Regions from separate parts of the Homo sapiens genome. Here all the other regions are linked to region 6. The links are contacts of gene promoters, found by promoter capture Hi-C in blood cells and fetal thymus (Javierre and others, 2016). All regions are on one chromosome and are shown on one strand. The core of a region is centred on a gene start or on the middle of the fragment in contact, and the rest is flanking DNA. Distances in the headings are between cores, read along the strand shown. Region 1 overlaps DENND1A (DENN domain containing 1A). Region 2 overlaps DENND1A (DENN domain containing 1A). Region 3 overlaps DENND1A (DENN domain containing 1A). Region 4 overlaps DENND1A (DENN domain containing 1A). Region 5 overlaps DENND1A (DENN domain containing 1A). Region 6 holds the start of LHX2 (LIM homeobox 2). Region 7 overlaps DENND1A (DENN domain containing 1A).

The links. The method cuts DNA at HindIII sites, captures the fragments that hold promoters and counts their contacts. A CHiCAGO score of 5 or more calls a contact.
Region 1: a fragment that was not itself captured here is called in contact with the fragment with the promoter of LHX2 in region 6 in 1 of 17 cell types (neutrophils); the score reaches 5.3 in neutrophils.
Region 2: a fragment that was not itself captured here is called in contact with the fragment with the promoter of LHX2 in region 6 in 4 of 17 cell types (endothelial precursors, erythroblasts, M0 macrophages and 1 more); the score reaches 8.7 in endothelial precursors.
Region 3: a contact is called between a fragment that was not itself captured here and the fragment with the promoter of LHX2 in region 6, in 6 of 17 cell types (megakaryocytes, endothelial precursors, monocytes and 3 more). The highest score is 8.7, in megakaryocytes.
Region 4: a fragment that was not itself captured here is called in contact with the fragment with the promoter of LHX2 in region 6 in 10 of 17 cell types (megakaryocytes, M1 macrophages, naive B cells and 7 more); the score reaches 10.7 in megakaryocytes.
Region 5: a contact is called between a fragment that was not itself captured here and the fragment with the promoter of LHX2 in region 6, in 1 of 17 cell types (megakaryocytes). The highest score is 6.2, in megakaryocytes.
Region 7: a fragment that was not itself captured here is called in contact with the fragment with the promoter of LHX2 in region 6 in 4 of 17 cell types (M2 macrophages, megakaryocytes, endothelial precursors and 1 more); the score reaches 6.7 in M2 macrophages.

Annotation. Positions count from the first base shown.
Region 1 is chr9:123,594,692-123,598,288 of GRCh38, reverse strand. The region is part of intron 11 of DENND1A (DENN domain containing 1A); the gene reads left to right. Among named protein-coding and RNA genes, the nearest start is that of MIR7150, 110 kb to the right of the region's middle. The HindIII fragment of the contact is 3,573 bases long and covers 1-3,108 here.
Region 2 is chr9:123,521,702-123,525,286 of GRCh38, reverse strand. The region is part of intron 13 of DENND1A (DENN domain containing 1A); the gene reads left to right. Among named protein-coding and RNA genes, the nearest start is that of MIR7150, 38 kb to the right of the region's middle. The HindIII fragment of the contact is 1,034 bases long and covers 1,411-2,444 here.
Region 3 is chr9:123,575,201-123,579,281 of GRCh38, reverse strand. The region is part of intron 12 of DENND1A (DENN domain containing 1A); the gene reads left to right. LOC105376266 (a long non-coding RNA gene) reads left to right here. Exons shown (of 2, transcript XR_930332.3): 1 at 1-4,081. Among named protein-coding and RNA genes, the nearest start is that of MIR7150, 92 kb to the right of the region's middle. The HindIII fragment of the contact is 927 bases long and covers 1,445-2,371 here.
Region 4 is chr9:123,558,716-123,562,606 of GRCh38, reverse strand. All of the region lies in intron 12 of DENND1A (DENN domain containing 1A), which reads left to right. Among named protein-coding and RNA genes, the nearest start is that of MIR7150, 75 kb to the right of the region's middle. RefSeq lists an enhancer at 1,098-1,659. The HindIII fragment of the contact is 1,278 bases long and covers 1,168-2,445 here.
Region 5 is chr9:123,502,779-123,506,852 of GRCh38, reverse strand. All of the region lies in intron 13 of DENND1A (DENN domain containing 1A), which reads left to right. Among named protein-coding and RNA genes, the nearest start is that of MIR7150, 19 kb to the right of the region's middle. The HindIII fragment of the contact is 4,077 bases long and covers 3-4,074 here.
Region 6 is chr9:124,009,111-124,013,225 of GRCh38, reverse strand. LHX2 (LIM homeobox 2) reads right to left here and starts at 1,458. Exons shown (of 5, transcript NM_004789.4): 1 at 758-1,458. The coding sequence starts at 877. It overlaps LHX2-AS1 (LHX2 antisense RNA 1), which reads left to right and starts at 3,830. Exons shown (of 2, transcript NR_135129.1): 1 at 3,830-4,115. RefSeq lists an enhancer at 1-546 and a silencer at 1,485-1,534. The HindIII fragment of the contact is 7,434 bases long and covers 5-4,115 here.
Region 7 is chr9:123,612,194-123,616,070 of GRCh38, reverse strand. The region is part of intron 10 of DENND1A (DENN domain containing 1A); the gene reads left to right. Among named protein-coding and RNA genes, the nearest start is that of MIR7150, 130 kb to the right of the region's middle. The HindIII fragment of the contact is 1,522 bases long and covers 700-2,221 here.

The DNA.
Region 1 (3,597 bases), core at 73-2,572, 410 kb after region 6:
CACCATTTGGACACTGCACAGTATATTCCCCTTCCCTGCCTCGGAGTGATTTTGGCCGTGCCATTAGCAGCAGCTGCTGGTGATAAGCACCGGGAGAGTCACCTGTGTAGGGTCAGGCTTATTGCACATCAAGGTTTGGCAGTGTCAGAAGAGAGGGAAGATGCCCAGGAGGGGGCTCCAGGCCACCTGCCGAGTGAAGATCAAAGGGTTGAAAGGTCAGAGGGCTCAGCTCCCTTAACTGTATCTGTCTGTGCAATAGCTATTTCAGATTGTAAATCTTGGCGATTTCATTAAGTCCTCCTGGCTGCTACTGGGGCATTGAAATAATAAAATTTTATATCTATTGCCTTTCCTGCCTCTGGCAGCCAGGCTGATACGTTGTCTGCAAGATGGGGTCGTCTTTATGAAAACCTTCCCTGGAATGATCTGAGTAGCATTAATGAAGCCTCAGATTGGGAAGTTGGGGTTCATAGGACGTCATCCTCAGCAGGAGGGAGGGGGTTTATAAATAAAGAAGACCCACACAAACCATTTAGCAGCCTTTTAGATTTGTGTAGCACCTCTCTTCTGAAAAGCAGGTCAGCAAAATATTACCTATTGCTAAATGTTTAATCTTAGGAGGAGGGGTGCACTTTCTCACTGCTGCTGCTTATTAAATAGCCCCTGTTCTAATGACCCTAGGGCCCATCCTTTTGAATAACCCCAAGAGCAGCTATACAGGTCTCACTTCTCACTCTGCAGACCTTTTGGGTGCTTTTAGAGACATGTCTCCTGAATATGATTTTCCAAGTATTTTTCCTAGATCTTAAAGTTGTTAAGGACTGTGAGGGCTCCTAGGCTCGTGGGTAGGACAAATCAAAGTAATAGCTGCCCCTTTACTGCCCATATGTTTAAGACCCCCTGTAGTTTGTTTGAAAAGTTAAGAGATTTTCACAGTGAAGGTGCCATTTCTGAAATTTAAAGTGTTCCTTTTCACCGCAAGATAAGTTCACTCTGATTAAGTCCGTAATTCTCACTAAGCCATGTTTATGGGGGCAATAAACAATGTTTCAGCGTGCTTGTTAAATTGGGTTTCCAACCTCTCCACTCTTTAAAAATTGACATTTCAAATAAAAGGCAGGTGGAGATGGGAGTCGGGCTTTGCAGTGCTTAGTGATGAATGAATGATGGCAAGTGGCAGTTGTGTGGGAGGAATGAGGTCCTATTTTATGATAGGGTGACCCCAAACCATTTGGGGACTAGGGAATCAACATCCCCCACACTCCCAGTGAAACTCTTAAATTCAAGTTCTATTGTTTCACTTTGGATGGATGCTATTTTGAACTACTGCCAGACACGTTATGCTCATTATTTAATTTTCATAATGCATCTGTGCTCTGGTAGTGGGGCCCCTATTTTACAGATGATGAAATATAGGCACAGAGAGGTTAAGTAACTTGTCCAAAGTCACACACATAATTAGGAGGAGCAGGATTCAAACACAGTTATTTCATTGCATGAAGCAGTTTAGTGTGTACAAAAGAAAACTATTATACTGGCCCTACTTTTAGGGCTTGCTTGCCACTGTGTTTCAGCACTCTGGTAAGTCTATACATGGAGGTCACAAGAGACGTGTGGAAGTGGCCACTGTCCTCAGTATTTGCTTAGCACCAGCTCTGTGCCTGGAAAGTGGAGGAGGCTGCACAGCGAGGAGAAAGGCACCAGGCTTTGGGGTCAAATCCCAAGCTCAAATCTTAACTCTGATACTCTATGATCTGGGGCAAATTACTGTACCTCTTGGAGCTTCAGGTTGTTCTTCTGTAAAATGTGAATAATAAAGCTCATTTCAAGAGGTTGCTTTGAGGATATTTTAAAATAATACATTCTAAAATATAGGTAAATATAAAATATGGTATGTTCAAAAATTCAACACTGCTTTACAGGTACCAGTGGTAAACATTACCACAGTGTATGTGAATAGCGTAAGGTTTAAAGCAGTTATTTTAAGGGGAAAGTGATAGCGCACAGGAAACATCACTAAACAAGTTTTAACTGCAGGCCAAAGAATCTGTTGTTCACTGTGCTTGGCATGGGGTTTAGAGATGACAACCTGAGGCGGGGATAGGAGTAGTCAGGAGGGTTTTCTAGAAGAGCAGGATCTGCTGGGTGGCAGTAACGTGGCGAGCTATCTCTGGGCCATGCTTCTCATCTTATGGAGTGCTCTGCCATATCATCGCATGTTTGTGCTTTGCAGCTGTGGGGAAAGGTGTTGACACCTTTCTTGTCCTCTTTTTACACATGAGGAAACTGAGTCTGCAGCAGTGGGAAGCCTGCTTCAGTTTGAGACAAAACACCAGCAGAGTCAGAGTGTGAGTAGGCTCCCCACTCCGTTCTGGATGGCAGAGTGGAGGCCAGGCTGGATGGAGGTTCTGTGTTGGGGTGGATTTCTAGAGTGGATTGCTAGGAGGACTGGCAGAACCCAGCTCCCAGAGGGGGGCCAGCTGGCACTGACCGAGCGTCTGCTTGATGGTGGACTCTGTATGAAACATGTGTTCCCAGTGTCTCCCCCAATCTTTTCAACAACCCTGAAGGTAAGGAGCATGACCTCGGCTCACAGCAAGGGAAACTGGTGCTAGAGAAGGCTGAGTGCCTTGCCTGAAGCTGCCTAGCTGGTAAGTGAAAAGGCCAGGACCCCAGCCTGGAGACTTTCTGGCCCTGGGCCCAGGACCATGTCGGGGAGAGAATGGGGCTGGTGGGTGAGTGGGAATGGTCCACTGGTCTGCTGCATACTACTGTGCCCTTTCTCAGATCTACCCACAGCCCATCCACAAGGAGAGGCGGGGAGCCCCTTGAGTTCAGAGATCATGGTTTAATCGTCTCTGTGTCCCTAAGACCTAGCGTAAAGTTGACATGAATGACGGCTCCATACGTGATGTACCAAATGAGTGAGTGAATGAACACCCAGTGGATCGATGGCCAGGAAAGGGGCCATTAGAGGAAGAGCCCCTTTGCTGACCTGGCTTGAGAATCCCTGGACTTGTTAATGAGAGTCAGTGCCTGTTACCTTGTGAGGGGTGGATTTGGCCTGACCTGGGAGGTGCTTACACCACTTCCCTCCTCTGCCAAGCTTCTGTTTCTGTTTAAAGCACACTGGGAAATTCCAGCGGTGTTTTCAGGGCTCCTCTGAACTGTCAGGCTTAGATTTTTAATTTTGTGGAGCAGGAAGGAGCAAATCAGCGACTCTTGGCTCCAAAGAAAAGCCACTGCGTTCATCAACTGCTTGGCAGCTTGGTGACCTTTGGGGCCTGAGGAAGGGAAGGAAAATGTCACTCTTCCCTCTTTGTGTATCTGAGATTTCAGGAGGAAATAAAGAGTTTAGAATACCTGAATGTTTGCCTTTCCTTTCCTGTCCTATCCACTTTCCCTCTTATTTCTCTTTCCTTTCCTCCTAGGAGGCCACCAGCTTCCCATGCTGTTCTTTGTTATGTACTCATATATATGCACATGCATTTGGGCACATTTTGTGCATGCTGTGTAGTGGAAGGAACACTGGCTCATGGAACCCAGATTCAAATCCTTTCTCTGATGCATCCAGTTGTAAGAACACGGGCAAATTAT
Region 2 (3,585 bases), core at 678-3,177, 490 kb after region 6:
AGGCCCTAAAAGTTAGCATAGAACTTTCTCTCTGAAGAGGGCTGCTCCCTGGGTCCTGGTTCCCATGCAGCCTTTCCATAGAAATAGAAGGTGTGCTTAGAAGGACAGCTTGCCTGGTTTCAGATCTTGGCTCTGCTGCTCACTTGCAGTGTGACCTCGAACACGTCTCCTCCTTTTTCGGAGCCTCAGCATTCTTATCTATCAAGTAGAGTGACTATGCCTGTTTCCCAAGGTAGTCAGAGAAGCTAGTGAGCCAAGGGCTATGGAACGCCTTAGCGATAAGAGGTATGCAGTGCCTATCTACTCCCTGTCCTTCCCTCATTTTTCAGTTATTAAAATGCAATTCTCTAGCTTTCCAGGTGTGAAACAGTCTGGGTTGAAATTCTTCCCATCTCCTCCTGCAAGGTAGCTAAGTCGGAGGTAGGCGTTTGGTTATATTCCCCAGTTGCTGTAACAAGAGCACATACCACTGTCTGCTCACCAATCAGTAAAGAGCACAAAGGTACAAATGTTGAGTACGTGGGACAGTGACCCCCTCTTGAAAGACAGCCTCAACTGTTACTGCCCAGCCTCCATCAGAGGGCAGCCTGAGACATTGTCATTGAAGAGATTCCAGTCGGGAAGACCGCCCTGGTTCATCTGCCACTTTACCAGAGGTCAAACTGGCAGCCTGCAGGCCAGATTCAGCAAATTCAGCCCTTAAATGTGTTTTGTTTGTCAAGTGCTGTGTTTGTAACCTTTTTTTAATTGGATGCTTCTAAATATTTGGAGACAGGGCATGGCTCATCTGTGTTGGCCACCACTCACTGTTGTCTTACACCCTGCCGCCTTCACTCAGTTCTATTCCTTGTGGACCCATGAAGGCTTTTGCGTTTGCAGCCTTTCTTTCTAGATCCACCCTGGACTTATTCCTATCATAAGCCCGACCATCCAACCCGCAGATATCATTGAAAGAGGTTTTGAATCCTTTTATTGTGTTTGCTGAAGCATATTGTTGACAGCATGATTCGTTTATTATCCAAAGACTATTTACTGAGTGCCTACTCTGTGCAGTGTAGGATGCCCTATTCTCAGTATCTCTGAGCATCCAGAGGAAGCCCCATCAAGTGGCCTCTTCTCCACAGACATCAGGAAGGAGTAAGGTTTCCCCCTGGGTAATTATAATAAAGACCTGGCATTCAGTACCAAGGCAGCACCCTGGGTTACGTGTATTTTTCATCCCTGACATGCCAGCAGATTCTTCACTCTTTTTCTCTAATACCACATGCTCCAGTCATCCCTTCTGTCATCACGCTGTTTCAGCAGGCACAAAAGGGCCTGCTCTCTTGTTTCCTTAATTGTTAGAGAGATTCTAGTTGTTGAGGGAGTTTCAGGTCCTCTGCCCATGATCACCTCATAGAAACTCAAGCTTCTGGACTAGAAGAGTTTTCATGCTTATCAACTATAATATTGATTCAAAGAGCAGACCGAGGTGCTTTCTGCATATAGCCCATACATTGAATACTTTTCAGGCCAGTTGATTCTAAAGCCTGACCTTGGAATCATATTCTCATTTCCAAGTCAAAGTAGATGGAGGAGCAGAGCCCTTTGCACTGAGCCACCAACATTTCTGGCCTTCGCTCTTCCACAAGCTGCCACTGTAAGTTTTTGGCTAGTTTTCCTTTTCATGAGAAATAGGTTAACTTTACAGTATGAAAGTACAGTTTTTCAATTTCAACTCTAATATTCCAAGAACAAGCTGTGAACTTTTTCACCTGGTGACCCATCGATCTGAATCTGTAGCCTAACACACAAATACTACAGGTTCCTTAATTGGGATGACTTGAGTTCAGATCTCTAACTCTGTAACGTATTATCTGTGTAGCAGTAAAAGCAAGTCAACGATTTGAGCTTTGGTTCTGTATCTTCTTATACACATGGAATAAGAGTTACCGCCTCGCACGGTTCTTGTGGGGCAGGCCTCCACAAGATGAGGAATGTGGAGCGCTGAGCAGAGCACATGGCATGCTGTTGGGGATTAGCCTAAGTGGCCTCCATCCTGTTGCTGTCACACGTAAGGGGGTTAGAGTATTGTTCATCCACAACACAGCTAACAGACCTAGCCCATGGACTGATCGGAGGCAACACTCTCTAAACATTTAACCCTCCCTCCTTTACCCCTCCTGAAATCTGTTTTGGTTTGTTAAGTATGTTACCAATTGTGGTCTCCTAACTCCCATATGTTAGCAATTAGATGTGGCCTCACATTAATGCTTTACCTCCATGTTTCTCTGCCCCACTAGACTGTGAGCTTTTGGAAGGAAAAGAGAGCTCAGTTCTTATTCACGTCTGTATTCCTAGCACATAGTGGGGCCTCTTAAAGTGTTTGTTCAAGACTTGGCTCAGATGCTGCCACTTATCAAAAGCAAATCTGCTTGTGGCTCCATCTCTCTAGACTTCAAGCTTCTTGCAGGCTGTGACAGCATCCGGGACGTCTCATGTTTCCAATGCAGATATAGTATGCTCCCAGTCAGTGTCAGCTGAAGGAATTAAGTGATATTTTCATCAGCCCGGAGCCCAGGACATAGTAGGAGCTCATTAAAAGGTAGCTGAGCTGCAGTTGTAATCATTAACACCAAGAAGAAGAAGAAAATAAAAATGGGCATCTGGTCACCCACTTTGGTGTGAAGTATGGACATTGATTGGAAGACTATTTCAGAGAAACAAAATGGCCCTTTATTCATTTTGGGGAAGGGAGGAGGGTTAGTAAAAGAGGGTCTTTTTCAAGTGTTTGCTCCATCTTGCTGCCACTTTACTATGTGTGGCTGCTGTTGCTATGGCAATTCTTTAAGCAATTGAATAGAACAGCACTAGTTGTTGCAAACCAGCTCTAATTGCTCCCATGCACCAGGCCTGCCCACACGACCACTCTCTGCACAGCATTCCCTTTTTCAGATACGTATTTTCATAAACCTCTGGGCATTGTGCAGCTCCCTTGCTCCTGTGACATTGCCATCCTCTGGCAGAGGGCACAAGAAGCAGCTCTGGGTGGGAGAGAGGGCTCCGCCAATTTTCCCTGTGTGAATGAGCAACACAGACCCCATGTCCAAGGGGGTAGCAGGATGCAGGCTCAGCAGGGCCTTGAAACCAAATAAAACATTTGTGGGGTAGGTTTATTATATATATTTGCCATTGTTGGGCAATTTAGTCATCTTTTTAAAGCCAACCATACCATTCCTGTGCCCTCCTGCCATGAGGGCCCCATTCATTGTGTACTGAGAACTTCTGGTTTTAACCTGAATGTAATTGGGGAGAACTGATATTAGAAGAAATGGAAGGGAGCCGGCATGGGTGGTGTCCCTCCTGTGTGCCAGGCAGCGTACTAGACACTTCCCATGCGTTGTCATTTCTTACACAGATTCACTGGGCAGTGGGTCGGGATAGGTCGGGGGATGGTAGCATCCCTGTTACAGATGAGGGAGCTGAAGGGCAGAGATTTAGTATGGAACCCATGGTAACAGCCAGTGAGTATATGGCTGGGATTAGATCCCAGTCTGATCCCAGTCTTACAATCACTGTGACGGATTCTGAGACCTGTGTTCTTTT
Region 3 (4,081 bases), core at 659-3,158, 430 kb after region 6:
GTGATCTTGGGCAAAATTACTTAAGCTCTCTAAGACTTAATTTCCACATAAGGTTGTTTGAGAATTAAATGTAATATATATAATATATTTAAAACATATATCCTATCAGCACAATCGACAGTAGCTGATGATGATGAATTATGGATGTGAATTATGATCCGCAGGGCATTCAGCCCTCCTTCATGATACCCCCCTGTTTTTGTTTCTCCATAGCTGTAGTTCTCTCTCCTCCCTGCTTTAAACTCTGTACTGTAGGTTTTTAGAACTGTTAATGGTTGTCCCAAATTTACATGTTGTTTCATAACTTCATACTTTGTATGCAGCATTTCTTTTGTCCCAGTGTCTTACCTCATCTATTAATCTCTCACTCATTCTTCAAGACCTGCTCTCAAGTATTTAATCACACACACACACAAACACATGCACACACACACACACAAACACACACTGAATCTTTTCTGACCTTCACGTAGATTTGACCATATCTTTCTCTATGTCCCCACAGCCCCTTGTGTACCTTGTGTAATTGTACTGATTTATTGCCCATTTCCCTTTTACTTGTCAGTTTTTTGGAGTAGCAGTAATTGAGTTTTATTCATCTTTGTTTTCCAAGAATCTAGCAGCCACTGAATAGATAGATGGAAGGATGGAAGGCACATATGGATTGGGTTATTATGGTAGATGAAATCTTGTAAAACATGGCATCTACGCTGGAAACTTTATTAAAAGAGGCTTGGGGCCAGACATGGTGGCTCATGCCTATAATCCCAGCATTTTGGGAGTCTGAGGCAGAAGAATTGCTTGAGGCCAAGAATTCAAGTTTGCAGTGAGCTGTGATTGCGCCACTGCTCTCCAGCCATGATAGAATAATTGGAACTGGATTAATCCTCCCACAATTTAAAACTCTGGACAAATATGAAAACAGCTGTTTTCACATGTTGGACAACAGACAAGACAAGATTGTTATCCCTGAGTGAAAGGAAGCCAGTGAGGTGAGGCCTACTATCCCACTGGCTTTCTGCCTTGAGGCATTTTCTGGATATTGGTACTAGAAGGGGAATCCCCAGCAAAGCACAACAGTCTTGGGGAGCTGAAAGATTAAAGAACAGTTTGAAGGGGAGATGGTTTACATTTGCAAGTGAGAGTATCAGACAGGAGGGAGCTACTCAGCTGAAGAGCTCCAGAAACCTGAATTGACAAACCTGCTGAAGACTAATCTGCCCATATGTAGGGTAAAACTCCTGACAGGAAACTATAAGATGAACAGTTCTCAGAGCTCACACAAGTCTAGGAATCCTGCAGGTTCTGACCAACCAGAGTCAGAGATCTTGTTGGTCATTCAGGACAATGATAAGAGACACCAGTAGGGCATGACTTGATAGTACATCTAAATTAGCTATAAAGATCATTTTAGCCCTGCCCTGAAAGAGCTTAAAATTAAGCTTTGAGAGGCACAAGAGAGGGCTTTAGGGGTCCTAAAATGTGCTGGATTTTAATCTGAGTGCCAGTTACATGGGGGTGAATTCGTCAAGCTGAGCACCAATGGTGTGTGCATTTTTATGTGTGTATGTTAAACTTCGATGAAAAGTTTTAAACAAACCTATTTCTTTTTAAAGAAGTCTTTAAAAGATCAATCTGATGTGCAAGAAATCTAACCTTGTGTCAAAATAAACTTCAACCCTCTTTAAAAGAAGGCAACACAATCCAATATTCGATAACATAACATTCACAGTATCTAACATCTTATTTTAAAAGTGCAAGACATGTTGAGAATGAGGAAAATGTCACCCCTAACAAGAGGAAAATTAGTCAATAGAAACAGACTCAGAAGTGACAGATATGATAGAACTAGCAGATAAAGACTTTAAAGTAGATTTTATGAAGACTATAAATATGTTCATGAATTTAAAGGAAGACCTGATTAAATGAAGGGAGAAATGGAAGATATTTAAAAATGAAAGGGAACATCTATAAGCAACAAATACACCTAGAATGAAAAAAAAATCACTTATGGGATTAAGAGGATATGAGATACCACTGAATAAAACATCAGTGAATTTGAAGATATAGCAATAAAAACTCCTCAATATGAAGCCAAGAAAGAAAAAAGACTGGAAAAAGTTAACAAAACTCAGTGATCCTATAGCATAATATCAAGAGGGCTAACATACTTGCAACTGGAGTCCCAGAAGGTAAGGAAGGTGAGGAAAGACAGAAAAAATATTTTAACAGATTATAGCTGATTTTTTTTTCAATTTTGATGAAATTATACTCAGAGCTCCAAGAAGCTCAATAAACCTGAAACACAATGGACCCAAACAAAACCACACAAAGATACATTTTGATTAATTGCTCAAAACCAAGAAAAGCTTAAATTAGCCAGAGAGAAAAAGGTATGAGAAGTAATTCTAGCAGACTTATTGCCAGAGACCATTTAAGGCAGAAGACAATGGAATGACATTTTTAAAGTAATGAAAGATAATTTTTATCAACCCAGAATTCTATATCCAGTGAAAATATCCTTCAAAAATGAAAGCACTGAGGCAGGTGGATCACCTGAGGTCAGGAGTTCAAGACCAGCCTGGCCAACATGGTGAAACCCCGTCTCTACAAAAATTAGCCAGTCATGATGGCGGGTGCCTGTAATCCCAGCTACTCAGGAGGCTGAGGTGGCAGAATCGCTTGAACCCAGGAGGCAGAGATTTCAGTGAGCCGAGGCTGCCCCACTGCACTCCAGCCTGGGAAACAGAGCTAGAATCCATCTCAAAAAAAAAGGCAAAACTAGGACTTTTTAAAACAGATACAAAATTGGAGAAATCATTGTCAGCAGACCTGCACTACAAAAGAAGTTCTTCAGCGGGGAAAAATGATATTATAGGGAAATCTGAATTGTAAGGAAGTGAAGAGAACCACAGATAGTAAATATATGGATACATGTAAGAAATTTACTTTCTCATTTGTAATTTCTAAAAAAGTTAATTGAGTATTTCAAGTAAAAATAATACCAGTGGAGGTATTCTGCTGGTAATAATACCAGTAGGGGGTGGAGAATAGAAGTATTCTGTTTAAAGGTTGTTACGTTACCTGTATACAAAAACTGGCATAATATTATTTGAAGGTAGACTGTATTAAGTTAGAGATTTATGTTGTAAACCTTACAAGGGCCACTAAGGGAGGAAAAAATAAGACAGAGATATATAGCTAATAAGCCAGTATTGAAGGTCCAAAACATTTTGTGGGGAAAGAGTAAACATGACAACAGATGGAACAAATAGAAAAGTTAGCAAGATGATAGATTTATTCAACTATGTTGGTTTTTACATTAAACATACATTGTCTAGACACTCCAATTTACAGAGGTTATTATATAAAAAAGCAAGACCCAATTGTATAATTTCTGTAAGAATTCTACTTTAAATATGAAGAGTCAAATAGATGAAAAGTAAAAGGATAAAAAAGATATACCAGCCAAATGCTGATCAAAAGAGAGTTGGGGGGCAGAGAAACAAATCATCCTTATACAAGTATACCAAATAATATTTGTAAAGACTGTCCTGTCCAGAAGGGGCTTAATCGCCCCTTGCCCCTACTTGGGTGTGGGCTAGAATGTATTTATTCCTAAAAAACTGTGTGTGTAAAGAGAAAAAGAGTAACTTTAGTGGAGAAACTGGCAGACACTACCTTAACCAAACGATCAATTTTAACATCACCAGTGATGTCATGTGGATATCATATAACCACTGATGTGATGTAATGAGGATATTTCACTTCTGTGGTATTCTTTCCAAAAATCCACTCTAATCATGCAGAGACTTCTGAGAAATTCAAATTTGGGAACATTCTGCAACAGGGGTCTCCAACCCCTGGGCTGTGGATTGGTGCCAGTTCATGGCCTGTTCGGAACCCAGCCATACAGTAGGAGGTGAGCAGCGAGTGAGCATGACCACCTGAGCACTCTACCTCCTGTCAGATCAGCAGCGGCATTAGATTCTCAAAGGACCATGAACCCTGTTGTGAACTTTGTATGCAAGGGATGTAGGTTGTGTGCTCCTTATGAGAATCTAATGCCTGATGATCTGAG
Region 4 (3,891 bases), core at 557-3,056, 450 kb after region 6:
TAAAGTTTGGTAATGTAGCATTTTAGATTTTTACTGCATATATATTTATATATAATTTTTAAATGGTTCATGCTGTACATGTTACTCTGCAACCTGCATGTTTTTCCTCACTCGACAGTATTTGACAGACATCTTTTTGTGTCAGTTCATAGAGTACCGCCATGTCCTTTTTGGCAGCTATGTGATATTTCCTGGTGAGGATGCGGGATAATGTATTTCAGAGGCCCCCATTGATGGAGACTTGGATGGTCTTTCAGAGGCTGAATAGATGTTCACAAGCAGGACAGGAAGGGACAAGAGACAGCCAGGACTGAGCTAGTGACATGGAAATGGGCTGAAGAGTAGCCTGTGCTTCTGGACATCCAAGTTTAACATTAAGTGGGGCAGGTGGAAGTGAGGCTGATGGAGGACAGCCTGCACAGTCTGCTCGTGGAAGTTTGGATGTTTTTCTGAAGGTGATGATGGTGAAGGGCGGGGGCACCGAAGGGTTTTGATGGAGGATCAAAGTGATTGGATTTGGATTTTTCCAAGATTACTAGGACAGATATGGGTGAATGGCATTGAGGAGAAACTGAAGGCAGAAGAAGGCCCACTGAGGAAACCGCTCCACTAGTCTGGGCCAGAGAGGGTGATGGAGCTGAATTTGCAGGGCCAATGTCATGGGCACTGAGAGGAGAGGATGGATTCAGGGCATATCTGGGTTGGTGTTGAGGAGATGTGGAGAATGTTTGTGGGAAGGAGGGAGAAGTAGGGAATCTGACATCTGACGCCTGGCCCAGGAGACTGGCCGGATGATGCTGCGGTAACCAAGATGGCACACAGAGGGGAAAGGGCGTCTTAGACAGAAGCTGGCAAGTTCAGTTTTGCCCCCTCTTTCCTTTGCCTTGTCTTCCTCCTATAACACCCGATTAAAGGAGGAAGCCATCCTCACCAGCACTTACAACACACCCAAATTACCCCTGATGAATCCCGATGTTAATGATTTGACCAGCACCCCTCGGGGTACTGAGGGCAAGTTCAGCTTTAGATATATGACTCTGTGTTGTTTAAACCTGAAATTGTCTTCCCTTACTTTTATTTAAAGGACAAATGCTACTCCCCAGCGATCAGATGCACAGATACTTGCAGTTTCAAAGTTTGAGGTGCTGGCAGGTCAAGACAAAAGCTTCTCCATGTTTCAGGGTGACAAGAGGTCTTCAGAAGTCCTGGCCTAAGTGGTCACAGGGGCATCAGGAGCCCAGGACCACTTGGCTAGTTTCAGACCAGCTGGGGCAGGCAGGAAGGGACACACTCGTATTTGCTCAGTTACAATCAACGACTCCTTCTTTGTGTAAAATGGTAATGAGGCCATTAGGAGAGGCTCACCTGAAGTGCAGCGTTGTGAATCCAAGGTAATTAAACACCTCCCGAATGAAAGAGAAAGGCCAGGGAAGGTTAAGTGAGGAATAATCTGCGGCACAGGTGGCCCAAGGCCCTTGAGGAGCCAGAAGGAGAGCGACAGTGGCTTGCACCATTTCAAAGGATGGAAATGTCACTGTAGTCCCTGGGAGGGGAAGGATTTTTATTTTTATTTTGGGGGCAGGGGCAGGGAGTGGGTAGTATTTTTAGCATGTTAATAGAGCATGCTGCTTTTTCATACTTCTCTTTGTAGGTGGAAGTCCATGGCAGAGTCAGCCTGGGTGCTGAGTGGCCTGCATTGCTCCTCAGGGGCTCTCATCACTGTGGGGCTGGGGCTTATGTGTCCTTGATAAGGGGAGGTCATAATAAATCAGTTATAGATACCCGGATGTTGAGGTAGACTTCAAACTGCTTCCAAAGGAATTGTTTTCCATGGTCCCCTCTTGGAGTAGAGGTGGGATAACTACCCCCTCAGTGTATGTTCCCAGGGCTTTTTACTTTTCCTTTTTTTTTTTTTTTGAGACAGGGTCTCACTCTGTCACCCAGGCTGGAGTGCCACGGTGCAATCATAGCTCATTGCAACCTCAAACTCCTGGGCTCAAGCAGTCCTCCCACCTCAGCCTTCTAAGTAGCTGAGACTACAGGCAGGTGCCACCATGGCTGGCTAAATCTTTTTATATTTTTTATAGAGATGGGATCTCACTGTGTTGCCCAGGCTGGTTTTGAACTCCTGGCCTCAAACGATCCTCCTGCCTTGGCTTCCCAAAGCGCTGGGCACGTCCCCATGGCTTCTAACTTATCAGAGGAGGGTATCAGTCCCATCTTCACTCAGTTTAGTGTCCAAACATGAGGCACGCCCTTTATCAACAGCAAAGGATTGTTTTCCTGTACACAGTTCACATTTATGAATGGCTTCCTAGGCACTGAGCACTGTGCTTGGTGACTTCATGTATCCTTCCAGCTTGTCTTCATTGCATAAGGTCTGGCAGAGGATTTTTGCTTTTCAGATTGTCACCTCAAAATTTCCATTGTCTCCACACAAAAGCTTGCACATGAATCTTCGTAGCAGCATTATTCATAACAGCCAAGAAGTAGAAACAGCCCAAATGTCCATCTGCAGATGAACAGATCGATAAAATGTGGTCTATCCATACAGTGGAATATTATTTAGCCATAAAAAGTATGAAGTCTTGACACAATGCTACAACATGGACGAACCTTGTTCATAAAAGCACTGTGCTAAGGGAAATAATCTGATGGCAAAAGACTACCTATTGTTAATTCCATTTATATGAAATGTCCAGAGTAGGCCAACCTGTAGAGACAGAAGGAAGGTGAGTGGTTGCTTGGGTCTGGTGTGGGGGAAAAATTGATAGGTAATGGGGAGTGACAGCTAATGAGTATGAGGTTTCTTTCGGGGGTAATAAAAATGTTCTGGAGTTAGTAGTGATGGTTGTACAGTCTTGTGACTACACTAAAAACCACCGAACTGTGTACTTTAAATGAATGAATTTTATATGTGAAATATGTCTCAATAAGCTATTAAAAGTTTTTCTTATCAGAAGCTTGGGTACAAGACCTAATGTGCGTGGATCATTTCTAAAGTATGATCTAGTCCTTCCCAGGTCGGATTTTTTTTTCCCCAGACTTCTCAGCAAGTGATTCTTAATATTTCTAGGGTCACAGGCACCTTTAGGAATCTGAGGAAAGCTGTGGATCCTGCGCCCAGAAAAATAATCTTCACTCATTCATACTAAAAATCTGTAAAGGATTCATGGACCACCTAAATCTAATTTTCTATTTTATCCTAAGTTTTGTCTTTAAATGATGTCATACCAGTAGCTGGTCTCTTACAGAATTAGTTTCTGTGAAACGTGCTCTTGATATGTTACCTGCATGCTTAAAACCAATCATTAGTTTTCTGTTTCTCTCTCAAGATGAAGGAAAAAAATCCCTTCAGGCCCCTGCCTTTCTCTCCAGCCTCATTTCAAGCCATATTCCCCTCATTTTCGCCACCGAAGCCAGGGTTCTTTCTGTTCCCTGAACTCTTCTTCGCTGCAGGGCCTTTGCACACCACTCCCCGTACTTAGCACGCGGTGCTCACCCCTCTTTGCTGAGTTAACCACCCTCACCCATCCTTCAGATCTTAGTGCAAGCTTGTTGCCCTCCAGGAAGCCTTCCTTGACCTTCTTGACAAGCTCTGTTACAGGCTCGTCACAGTAGCAATGGCACATGCATTCCTGTTTTTCTCACTAGAATGTCAGCTGAATGAGGGCAAGACCCACGTGTGGTTTCATTGTATCCCTTGCATTCTCAACACCTAACATAGTCCTCGGTACATAGGAAATAATAAATATTTGCTGAGTGAATGGATAACTCGAGGTCACCACGTCGCACAATTCCTCTTATGGGGAACGCAGCGTGAAAGGTGTGCTCTGAAGCGTGGCATCTTGAGATGAATGAAGGGCATGTTAGAAATAGTCCGGGAAGCTT
Region 5 (4,074 bases), core at 792-3,291, 510 kb after region 6:
CTTGAATATGTGTTTATTCTGTTTGCCCTCAAAGCAACATCTTTTGGTGGGAAGAACCCTGGACTGAAGACAAACCTGGGTTCAACCCCACTCCTGTGACTTTCTGGCTATGTGACCCTGTACAGGTAATTTAATCTCTCTGAGCCTATTTCCTCGTTTGTGAAACAGTCATAATTACCCTAATCTCTGTAAGTTGTTATGAGGATAAATGTGGATACACTTATTAATAATCATCATAGTAATAATTCTTTTTTTTTTTTTTTTTTTTTTTTGAGACAGAGTCTCACTCTGTCACCAGGCTGGAGTGCAATGGCACGATCTCGGCTCACTGCAACCTCCGCCTCCCTGGTTCAATTGATTTTCCTGCCTCAGCCTCCCAAGTAGCTGGGACTACAGGTGCACGCCACCATGCCCAGCTAATGTTTGTATTTTTAGTAGAGACAAGGTTTCACCATGTTGCCCAGGATGGTCTCGATCTCTTGACCTAGTGATCCGCCCACTTCGGCCACCCAAAGTTCTGGGATTACAGGCGTGAGCCACTGCCTGGCCAATAATTCTTAAATAGTGCTTACTCCGTGCGGGGCACTAATTAAAGCACTTTATACATATTACTCATTTAATCCTCACAACCACCCTGTGAGGTAAATAATATTATTTTTTCTGTTGTGCAGATGAAAAAACTAAAGCACAGAAAAGTTAATTGATTTGCCCAAGGTAACACAGCTAGGAAGCATTAAGGTCAGAATTGTAATGCAAAATGTCTAGCTCCAAAGTCCTTGCTCTTAATCACCATACTGTGTGGGCTCTCGGAGGTGTTTGGTGAATGCTTATCATTTCTGGAAACTTTCGGCTCAGGCGCATGAAGGGGGCACACTCACTCACGTTGAGGAGCAGCGGCACAGAGGATGGCATTGCTAGCCTGCTCCTCTTGATCACAGGGCACTTGTCTAAGGGAGGCCACGTTGTTGAAGAGAAGAAATAGCATCTCTGACCCAAGGCCATCCGAGAGCCTCGTGTCGCTGGGGGACCTTTAAATATTCTATTTCTAAATTTCAAAGCTAGTTTGGGCTATATTTACAGCATTTAACATATGAAAAATCATTGGGAAAGTGGGCTTTTAAGTGGAACGGTTGTGTAATGGAATATTTCACGTTCCGGTTCAGCCATAAAGCTCAGGGCTGATAAACAAAGCATCTGAAGCCAAATGGCTCCTCATCTGACCCCAATTAAAATAAAGATTTCATTCCATTCTGTCCTGACAGAGAGGAACATATTGTTGCCTTTAAGGGAGTTTGGTTTAGTTAATGAAATAATTTTATTTCATTTTTCCCCCCAAATACAATATCTAATTAAATAAGATTCAATTTGTTAGGACTTCTGGTAGGGATATGTTAACTCTTTTAAAGCTATGTTGCCTACATGCCTCAAAATGTGGAGGGTGCTTGTGAATCCCACTTCGCAATCCATTGTTTAAAGAAGAAATAAGCCCAAGTCACTTTAAAGACAAACATTATCTTCTCCAAGGTATATCTGTTTACATCTCCACTATAGCAACCTGTGTATGTAAGTAAGTAGCATGGATTCTGTACAAAATATCACATATTTACATAAAGCCCCATTTCCTAGAAGCATTTGTACTTGTACATATTGTAATTTACCAATCACCATAGATCTGTCCATATAGAATATCTCACGCAGGGAGTTGTAGCTGCTAAAATATGTTAGGTAACATAAGTTGGGTATTGATGCCAAATTATCACGGAGTTCCTTCAGAGTTATCTTGCAGAAATATGTGACTGTCTAAAGACTTCATTATTTAACATTAAGAGTGAACACCAGCAAAACTCTTCTTTTACAAGGGGGGTGGGTTCTTGTGTCATGCTGTCGCCGCTTTCTTGTAGTCTTTTCTGTATGTGCTGTGGTTCATCGTGACTGTTGGGTCCATAATTACCAAGCAGAACATGTTGGTGTCATTATGGAGAAGTTCTCTTCAGCTTAGCTAGGCATGGGGAGGCATTTGGATTGTGAGGCCCTGATTGGTCACCTCCATGCCCCTGAAGAACTGCCTTGGTAGTCCACAGAGCTGTAGGGAACTGCTGGCCTGGGCATCAGGAGTGCCGGCCCTGCCTGAGCGCCTCTCTTCTCTGGGCTTCAGTTTCTTCGTCTTTAAAATGACAGCACGGGGTCAGCAGGTCTCCAAAGACCCATGGCTCTGCCTCCCTCAGATTCTGTATTCAGTAGAGCAGAAAGTACATGATGTTCTGAAATCCACTAAGAATTTGTAGTCAGATGCTAAGGATTTATATTCTGAGAAATGAAAAATTTTTTAACTGTATAAAACCTAAGACATTTAAATCAGACTTAAAAACACTCTGTCATTTTCCAGTGGCTCCTTCTGATGTTCTGTGAGCATTTGGTCAATGTTATAAGCATGCATCCCGTGCAGGCCTAGTGTCAGGTATACAAAGACAAACCATTCATGGTCCTGCCTTCCAGGAGCTTACCTCCCAGTGGGGGTGAAAAGAGAGTCAAGAAGTCATCCCTTGTTAAAGTACAACAGGGTAGGGTAGGTGAGATGAGGTGAGGGGCAGGTGTCCCAGAGGAGGGGATATTTTGGCGGGACCTCGAAGGGCGAGTGCAGTTTCACCAGATGGCGAAGGGCAACTCATTCCAGGCTGAAATGCTCAAGAATAGACGGCACAGCCTACTGGGGCAAAATGATCATTTCTGTGTGCTTGCAGCATGGAAGTGGGCTGAGAAAGAAGCAAAGAGAACGATAAAACCAGAAAGGAAGGCTTGTGAAAAACCTCAGAATCATAGAAGTTCCTTTCAAAGGAGTATGGCCAATGTTTTTCAAACTGGTAGAAATGGGTATTCTTTGAATAAAAAGAGCCAAGACCCTGGGAGTACAGATGACTCAGTTCCCCTGTCAGAAGCACACAGGGAACGATAAAGACCCGACAGGACCCTCAGCCATTGCCCAGACTGAACTTGGCTTAACCCAGTGTGTCTCAGACTCATTGACCATCAAGCCCTCCTGAGGCAGAAGACCTGTTGGTGATGGGGAGATGCACTGGAGCTCTAGTCATTAGAAACACAGAATCCAATCAGCATTTTAGAAAGACTATGCTGGCCTACAGGGGTGGGAAAAGGGAAGGGAGGATGTCATAGTATCAGAAAGTATCAGGCATTAGACAGCTAGTTGCACTTGAAGTTTTTCAGGGTACATTTCAAGGAGAATCTCCTCTGAATGTAATCTATACCTTCTCAATGCTGATATGTGAGTTTTACGTGAGTCCGATGAGCTCAAGACTGGCCAGATGCTGCTATTTAAAGTCATCTGCCTGGCAGCCTTTCAAGAGCTCATAGATAACATTGGTGGCTGTTACAGAAATGGGCTGAGTGTTAAGAGGTTGCAGGCAGAAGATGAAGACTGATGTTAAAGATTTCCATGGCTCTTTGAAGCCATTTGTTGAGGGCATACCAGTGCCAGGGGCTGTGCGAAGTACTCTTAAATACACTCCCAGCTATTCCTTGAAACCATCTAAAAAGATATTGCTGTTGTTCCACTTTGATGAATAAGGAGACAGAGGCATAAAGAGAGTAGTTGACTATGCCAAGGTCACATGGCTGATATTCAGGTCTCAAATCCATCTGACTAACTCCTAAGTCCATCATCTTAACACTGCGCTTCTGTAGATAGCATGCCGTAGATAACCTCCATCTCAAAGCACTGACCACCTGCCAGGTATTATGTGAAGCACCTGACATAATGATATTTAATGTACTCTCCCCAAAAAGCCTAAGAGGTGAGTGGTATTATCCCTGCTAAATCAATGAGCAAACTAAGGCTTCATCATAGCAGCCATGGTCACGGCTAGATCTTGCAAAGCTGGGAACTGAGCTTCAGTCTGTCTGCTCACTACTCCCCCTAAATAATTTTTAGAAAGTTATTCATGTTGCTCAGAAATGTTTCTCTGTAGCCATGTTAGAAAGTTAGTGGGCTCAAAATAGATCAAGACCTAAATTTAAGACCTAAAACTATGAAAACCTGTGGAAGAAAACATTGGGCAA
Region 6 (4,115 bases), core at 209-2,708:
AGCTTCTCCCGTGCTCCCCACCTCCGCGGCCTCCTAAAGGTCACTTCTGGGCCCGCTGGTCGGGCAGTGTCTGCTCGTCTGGCCCCCAGGGAGGCCTGAGGCGAGGAACTGGCTATTTGGGGCTGGGCCCGCGGAGCCAGGTGTAGAGATCCAAATGGAGTCTCCTTCGGCGAGGGCCAGGCCGGAGCCTGAACTCCCAGCCCTGGCCTGGCTAAGTCTGACCAGTCAAGGGTCTGGGGACGCGATCAACGACAAATGTTGGCCCCGAAGACTTCGGCCTCTGAAACTGCGCTGGGGGTTGAGGAGGATCCCCGATTGCCGGAAAGCTGGGAGCGGCCCAAGCCGGCTGGAGCCCCAATGCTCCCAGCTGGTTCGCCCTTCCCTGGCGCCGCTCGCGGCGCCGCCAGCAACCGGAGCCGAGAGGTGGAGGAGAGCGCGGGGCTGTCGACCCCGGCACCGGGCAAGGTGAGAAGGGAGCCGCCCCGGGCCGCGGATGGGACTTCGCTTCCAGTTCGGAAGAAACGCTCTCCTCTACCCCCAGGGCCGAGATTTCGGTTTCAACCTTGTTTCCCTTCTGCGTCCCAGCAGCCGGGTTTCCCCCGAACCGGGAGCCACCGGCCTTGCATTCTGACCGAGGATCCCCAGCACCCAGTCCCGTGCGGCACGAAGGACGCTCCCCAAACTTCGGGGAGCAGAGGCGCTGACTGGCCCGGCCCCATCCCAGCTCTCAGCCCCGACCCCACAGCCGCGCGCCTACCGTCTCGGTGTCGCCGCGGTCGATGGCGGAGCTGATGGCGGGAGCCTCGCTCTTGGCCCTGCGGTCCATCTCGTCGATGACCCCGTGCACCTCGGGGCCCGACAGACTGTGGAACAGCATCGCGGCGGGACCGGCGGGGCCGGGGGCGCGGCTCCTCCGAGGGAGGGCTTGCCCCCCGCCTCAGCTGCCTGGCGCTCCTGGCGCTAACGGGCCCGGTGCATCGCCACCGCGGCCCCGGCCCCGCCCGAGCTCGGCTGAGCCCCCAGGCCGGGCTCCGGGCCCCGGGCGCTCGCGGGGCAGGACGCCTCCCGCCGAGGCGCAGGGGCAGCTACATTGCGGGGCGCCTGGGCGACGGCGCCAAAGCCAGGGTCACAAGGGCACGGGACAAGCGGGGCGGGGGGAGCAGGAGACTAGGACAGAGGTCGGCGCCCGCCGCGGGCGCTTTCACGCCGCGGGCATCGCCCGCCCGGCTTCAGCGCCCGGGGCGCAAAGCAAGGGCGCAAACTCTGCCCGAGGCGGCGACGGCTGCGGTCGGGGTTCACCCTGAAGCCGCTAGGTGTCCGCGGCGGCCCAGCTGCCTGGACCCCTCCCCTCCCTGGGGTGCGCCCCCAGCCCAAGGCGACCCTCTTGGGCGCTGAGTCGGCGACTGGAGTAGGGGTTTCTCCGAAGCCTGCGAGCCGAGTCGAGCCACCGGGAGAATTGAAGAGGAGGAGGAAGAGGAGGAGGAGGAGGCGGAGGAGGAGGTGGAGGAGGAGAAAAAAGAGGAGGAGCAGAGTGGGAGGAGGAGCCGCCGGCCGCGGGCCCAGCCGCGCGCAATGCTCTCCAAGCGCGCGCCTAGCCCAGCCCCGGCTCTGCAGTCCGCGCCAGCGCAAGCCTCCGCGCCTTTTCTACAGCCGCGCCTGACATCACGTCCTGCCGCCGTGCCATTGGCCGCTCGGCGCCCCAGGCCCTGGCAGCGCGTGCTCCGGGAAGGCGGGAGACCCAAGAGGGAGGGGAGAGGCAAGAGGAGCAGAGGAGAGTCGAGATGGTGGGAGCTGGTGGGCGAGGCTGGAGGGCGGGGGTGGGGGGGAGGCAGGGAGGAGGGAGAGCGCGGGGTTTGGAGTTTTTAAGATACGAACAGCTTCCTGCGATATCTTCAGAAAGGAAAATTAAACCCTCTATCCTAAGAAGGCGCAGCAAGGGGATGCTCGTCTCACTGCGGTCTCCCCTCGGCCTGGAGCCGCGGCCTCAGGCACCCGCCTGGGAGGCCCGGGAAGGCAGGCCTGTGGCAGAGTTGCAAGAGCCTTCGGCCGGCCGTTTCCCATCGAGCTCCGCCTTCGGCCCGGGCTCTGCACAGCGGGCTGCAGGCGGCCGTGCAAGCCTCCTGGGTACCCGGCAGAGCCTGAGTGGCGAGACCGGCGAGAGCTGTGACTCCCGGGGAGGGGGGCCAGCCAGCATATCCACGCTCCAAGCCCGCTAGGGCCCAATCTGCAGCCCAGCGTGTAGCTTCTCGCTCTTCCCGGTCTCTCCCCAGCCTGGAAGAGTGGGGGCGAGCATGGCTTTAGGAACTCAGAAAGGCCAGGGTTCGAATCCTAGCTCTGCCATTTACATGCACTGTAACCTTAGGCAGTGACTTATCCTCCCTTAGCCTGTTTCTGACCTTTATAATGGGCGACAAGAAGCTCTCCTCCGCATGGACGTGTTGATTGAAAGAGACTGTGGATGTAAAATGCCTGGAACATAGTAGGCACTTAGCAAATTATTTCATTACTCTCTCTTGCTCCTTTTCCATTAAAAACTTTCTCACTCCAAGACACATTCGATATCAGTGAGGTTCTTAAAAACCACAGGCCTATTCTCTGCCCACTGGGCACACCATGTCTCAGACCCCGCTGATGGCGCGAGTCCTCCTTACCCGCCTGGCTGCACCACCTCCCCAGGGGCCAACAAAGTAGCGTGCTGGGTAAATCCCAACTGCTACCCCCAGCCTCCAGGTTTCAGGCTCACCCTAGAGTCTCCTGGGGACTGGAGGGAAATACCCAGGTGTCTGGTGGGGGAGGGATTTAGGAAATAAAATGATTGTAGACAAAAACTGAATAAGCACTTCGGTTACAGAGTCCCATCTGGGTCTGCTTCGGAGGCAGGTTTGGCTCCGTCTAATAGGGACAAGGCGGGTGTCAGTCTGAAATGACTTGTTTGCCAGGACAGGTAAGGGGATAGTCAGGACCTGCGGTTTACCTCACAGGGTACAGAGTTGAGGCATGAAATCATGTTTTTCACGTGTGTAAGTAACTTTCACACACAAATATATGTGTGCACAAATATATGTATGCGTGTAATGCCCAAGCACATGAACTTGTGTTCATGTGTGCAAATACACATGTTCATCTCTGTTGGCAATAACACAGCCAGCACGAATTTTATCTCTGTTGGCAAAATCACAGCCAGCACCACTGAAGAGCTAGGGTCTTACACATGCGCATCAGGTGTAAGTGTCTAGAGCTGGGAAGAAGGATGCAACTGCAAAATGGTAAATTGCACGTTATACCTGCACTTGCGTGCTCAGGCGATTCTACTTAAATCACTGCAAGTGCTCCTACGAGGTCGTTTTGCATAATTGAAAAAACTTGAAGTTACAATCATATGTGTATATTCTGCATGTGTACAGATGCCCCAACGCGAGGGAAGGACCACTAAACCCAAAGACGCGCGTGCCCGTGTGTTCACACAGACGTGTGCTTCGGCGCCTGCACACGGCCGGCGCGCAGGCATGCGGACGCCTACACGAATACATAGGCATGTTTTATTGACGCATCTGGGGCACTTTCTTTCAAAGAAAGTAAGGAATGAAAATCCAATCTGAGAGTCACCAGGGTTCATCTGGAGGTCGCCCAAGGGGCAGAAAAAATTTGTAATGACGCTAGAGTGTTTGTCCTTGGTGCAACTCCACTCTCGGGAGGGCTGGATACAATACGTTTGGAAAGCTCGAGGGGCTGCCTTAGGATCTGGGGGCGGGGGGTGGGGTACTCAGCAACTCTTGCCGCGGGCTGCTCAAGAAACGTGGAAACACACCCTGCGACTTTCCACTCCCCCATACATATAGGCACGCGATTCCGTCGCCACCTCTCGGACCAGCAGCCCACGTCCAACGCTGGGCCGACCCCAGATACACAGGCAGTCGGGATTCCCGCCCGGTGCGCTTGTCTATTCATCCCTCTGCGTCAGGCTGGGACGCGCTCCGTCTGTAAAAGGCTCAAACGCATCTCCCGCCGCGGGGCGGGATCTAGGGGCCCAGGCCCCGGGGTCCAGAGGCGGGTAACTTTGCTAATCTCCCCCAGCGGCGGGGAACGTCGCGCAACCGCTGAGCCCTGTCCGCCGA
Region 7 (3,877 bases), core at 211-2,710, 400 kb after region 6:
GTAATCCTAGCAACTCGAGGGACTGAGGCAGGAGAATCACTTGAACCCAGGAGACAGAGGTTGCAGTGGGCCAAGATCGCACCACTGCACTCTAGCCTGGGCAACAGAGCAAGACTCTGTCTCAAAAAAAAGCTATAAAATGGATGGTGTAAATTGGATTATTTGAGGATTAAATGAGATAAGGTGGCTGGAGCCTCCCATGCAGCCCTTGAAATGTGGTGTGTGCTCAGTAAATAGCTCGACTGTTTTACCCTTCCTGCTCTGCACATGGCACCATGGGAGGCTCTGGGAAACAGGATTCTGTGCTTTTGTGACTGACAATCTAGAGTCACCCTTCAAATCAGCACATGCTTTATGCCAAATGGGTAACCCGGACAAAAGCCCCTACCAAGAGAGGTGTTAGCCACCACTGGGCAATCTGAGAGGCAGGCAGCATGGCTTCAGTAGGACTTGAAGAAATAGTGAAGCTGAGGCCTGTGGGGCCACCATGTGACTGAGATGAGCTCAGAGGCACTTCAGGGACCAGAAGCTTCCTGTGATGGAAAAGGTAGCAGGGGAGGAGGAGCTCAGACAGAATGTAGAAGCTCCTAGGTCTTGTCACAGCTGCAGGCCAGCCCTTAGGGAGCAGGTTAGAGAAAACCACCTAACCTCCTTCCTCTGCAGGCTGTGGGAATGCTGGTCTCCAGGAAATAAGAAGCTTGCTTGATCCCCGTATCATGGGCTTGGGTTCTAGTCCCAGTTCTGCCACTTACTAGCTGTGTGACGTCAGATGAATGATTTAGCTTTTCCAATCTTAGTTTTTCCATCTGTGAAATGGTAGTTCTGATAGCACCCTCCTTATGCTGCTATGGTGAGAATCTAATGAGGAAAATGCCTTAGCCTATGCTGGCTCTTGGCAAATTTGCAGTCAGTGGTGGCTGCTCTTACTGGCTTCCTCTCCTACACTGGCAGTTACATTAGCCTGAAGAGCAGCTGTCTCATCGCTCTCACTAAGCCCAAAACCATGATCATTCGCATTCTCCAGCAAGATATGTTCTCTGGTGTCTGTTCTTTTTCTTTTTCCCGTTCTCTTGTCCTTTAACCTCTCTAATAAAGCCAGGCTCATTATTTCGAGCAGAATTTAAAACCACAAGACAATCTGTGTTTACACGTTTGTGTCTTTTACAAAAAAAGAAAGAAAAGCTCACATAAGACCTCCTTCAGAGTTTTTCTTTCTGACTGTGGGATCCCCTTTGCCTGATCAGGGTATTTAATTAAGAAGGTGGTGGCCCTCTGAGAGGTAAGGTGACACTGTGATGTGTATATTGTAACGTGGATACCTATGTGTAAACAGTGATCTTTCCAAATCCCTGGGCTGCCCTAAGCTGTGTTCCTTCATGATAGCAGAGGTGTTGCCCACCTGGAGGTGGAGGGACCGCCTCTCCCTTGTTTCCTCTCCCCTCCCACTTTGTCTTGGGAAGCTGTATTTTTTTTTTTTTTAAGCAGCCAGTGTTCCTTTATTTCACTGGACTCATTTCCAATTAGTAGCTGCTCACCTCAGGGGAACATGATTAACAGAGCCCTGGTTATCTGGGGGAAAGGAATTAAACAAATTGTGAAAGTGCGGTAATAATGAACAAGGACTACAGGATCGTTAGTAAGTCTGCAGTTTCCATATTCTTGCTTCTTCCTTGCTGGGAATAAGCTCATGCCATAGGACTTACCTGTCAGAGAAGCGCTCAGCATCACAGGCCTGGAACCAAGAGGACTGGCGAATAGCCCTTTTGGTACCCCAGCGCTCTTTTCCTTTCAGCTTAAGTACTGAGTATGTGCTGTGTGACCTCATGTGCAGAGCTTGGGCTGTCTGTTCAGCAGCCTTGCGTCTGAAGTACGGCTTCACCACTGACCAGCTGTGCGATCTTGGCAAATTTTATCTTTCTGAGCGTGTTTCCTAACCTGAAAATATGGATGATCGCACCACCTTGCAGAGTTCCCTTGAGCATTATGTGTGTAATGCATAAAGGTGACTGAATTATAGTAGCTCAATAAAAGTTCCTTTTCCTCTTAAGAGGATTCAAACTAAAGATATCTTCCAGGTAAAGGTTATTCTGTTGTGTCTGCCTCAACACCAGCAACAGAGCCCTTTTCCTTTTCAGGGGAGAAGGAAAAAAGAGTCACTTTTACTCTCACGTTTGTAACTGATGAAATCAGATAGTGCAGTAATTCCCAGAGAACAAAAGCTTCATACAGATATACCCCATTCTGCTATTCCAGGATGTACAATAGCATCCTACAATCACTGTCAGTCATACAGCAGTTGTGACATGGTTGTCATGACCTGCCTATGCATAAGTTTGGTTATAACTGTTAATATTATCACCACTTTAATTTAATTATGTGCATTGTTGGTTCTGCACATGTTGTTTAATTGCCGTTTAAAATGTCTTCAAAATTGCACTATGATTCAATATTGAAAGGTAAAGTCACTGTGAATGCTAAAAGGCTCTGGAGAAGAGAAGCAGAGTATATACATTTGCTATTACTGAAGCAGATATTTCCATTCATGTTTTCTAGAACAGCAACAAATAAGTTCTTTCTTGAACCTAAACAGGAAGATCACTTCTAGTAGATGGATTTTGGTTTGGTTTTGTAACTGAGATACCCTTGGAAAAACATGGACGTTTATGCCTCTGAATTAGAAAAGGATTCAGATGTGTTGGATTCTGAATATGAAGAAGTTTTTTTTTTTTAAATAGCTTACCCAATTTATTTTGCTGTTTTATTTTTAATGTATGCTCAAGAGTGATAAGAGGTTTTTAAAAATGTGTCCAAGTGATCAGAAAGTCATGAACCATTGTTTCATTGATAGTTTTTCCGTTATTGGTGGTACATTAGAAAGGAAAGGCACCCTCCTGACGAGAGTGATGAGCAACCCTCCTGAACTCAGTGGAGTATCCGGGAGACAAGAGTGTGCTTGGGAGTCAGAAATCCATGTGTAGAGATGGTGTGTGCCTGTCAAGCACCTCCCATTCCTCATGGCATCTTGACCATTCTTACCAGCAGTTTACCAGGTATCCTAGAGCGGGTATGCTACAGAACCAGGGCTGGAACAAGAAACCATTCTGTGGGTAATAGGAGAGTGGGTCCAATGGTGCCAGCCATGCCAGGGGCTCAGAGAAAACCCTACCATGTGCTGCTGCTGTGCCAGGTACGTCAGAGGTTGTCTCTAATCTCTACAACAATCCTGAAAGATTTCTACTAGGCCAGGTACTGCCTTATTGGAGAATGCTTTGCTAGGATATAACAAAAGATAAGAAACAGCCCTGTCCTTTAATTTTTAGTAATTCGGTGTCTAGGAATTCATGCAACATGAAGGTGTTCATTTTTATCACAGTGATACTTATAGAAAATTGGAAGCAACTTAATGTCTACTCTAGGGATAGCATTCGATAAATTATGATACATCCATATTTGGTGGAATATTATGCAGTCTTTAATAATCACAAAAATTATAGAACAATCTGGGAAATGTTCATGTAGCCAATGAGAAAATAAAACAATGTATGCACTTTATAATTTCAAAGATATAAAGCTGTTAATGTGAGCCAGTATTAGAAAGGAATGCAAAAGAAAAAGTAATTGTGTTAGGATAATATAATCATGGGTAGGTGTTTTTCTCCCCAAACATTTCTTTTAAAAATAAAAAGACAAAGAAGAGGTTCCAAGAAACTGAGTCAGTAGCTACAATAATTATTGAGATACAGTGAGAATAGAAATTGTTTTCAGACTGTACCTAGAATTACCCAATTGGATAAGTACCACATTGAGATGTTCAGGAAATTCTGGGTTTCTTTTTCTTCCCTCTCCCTCTCACCACTTGGAATTCGTAATTATATAT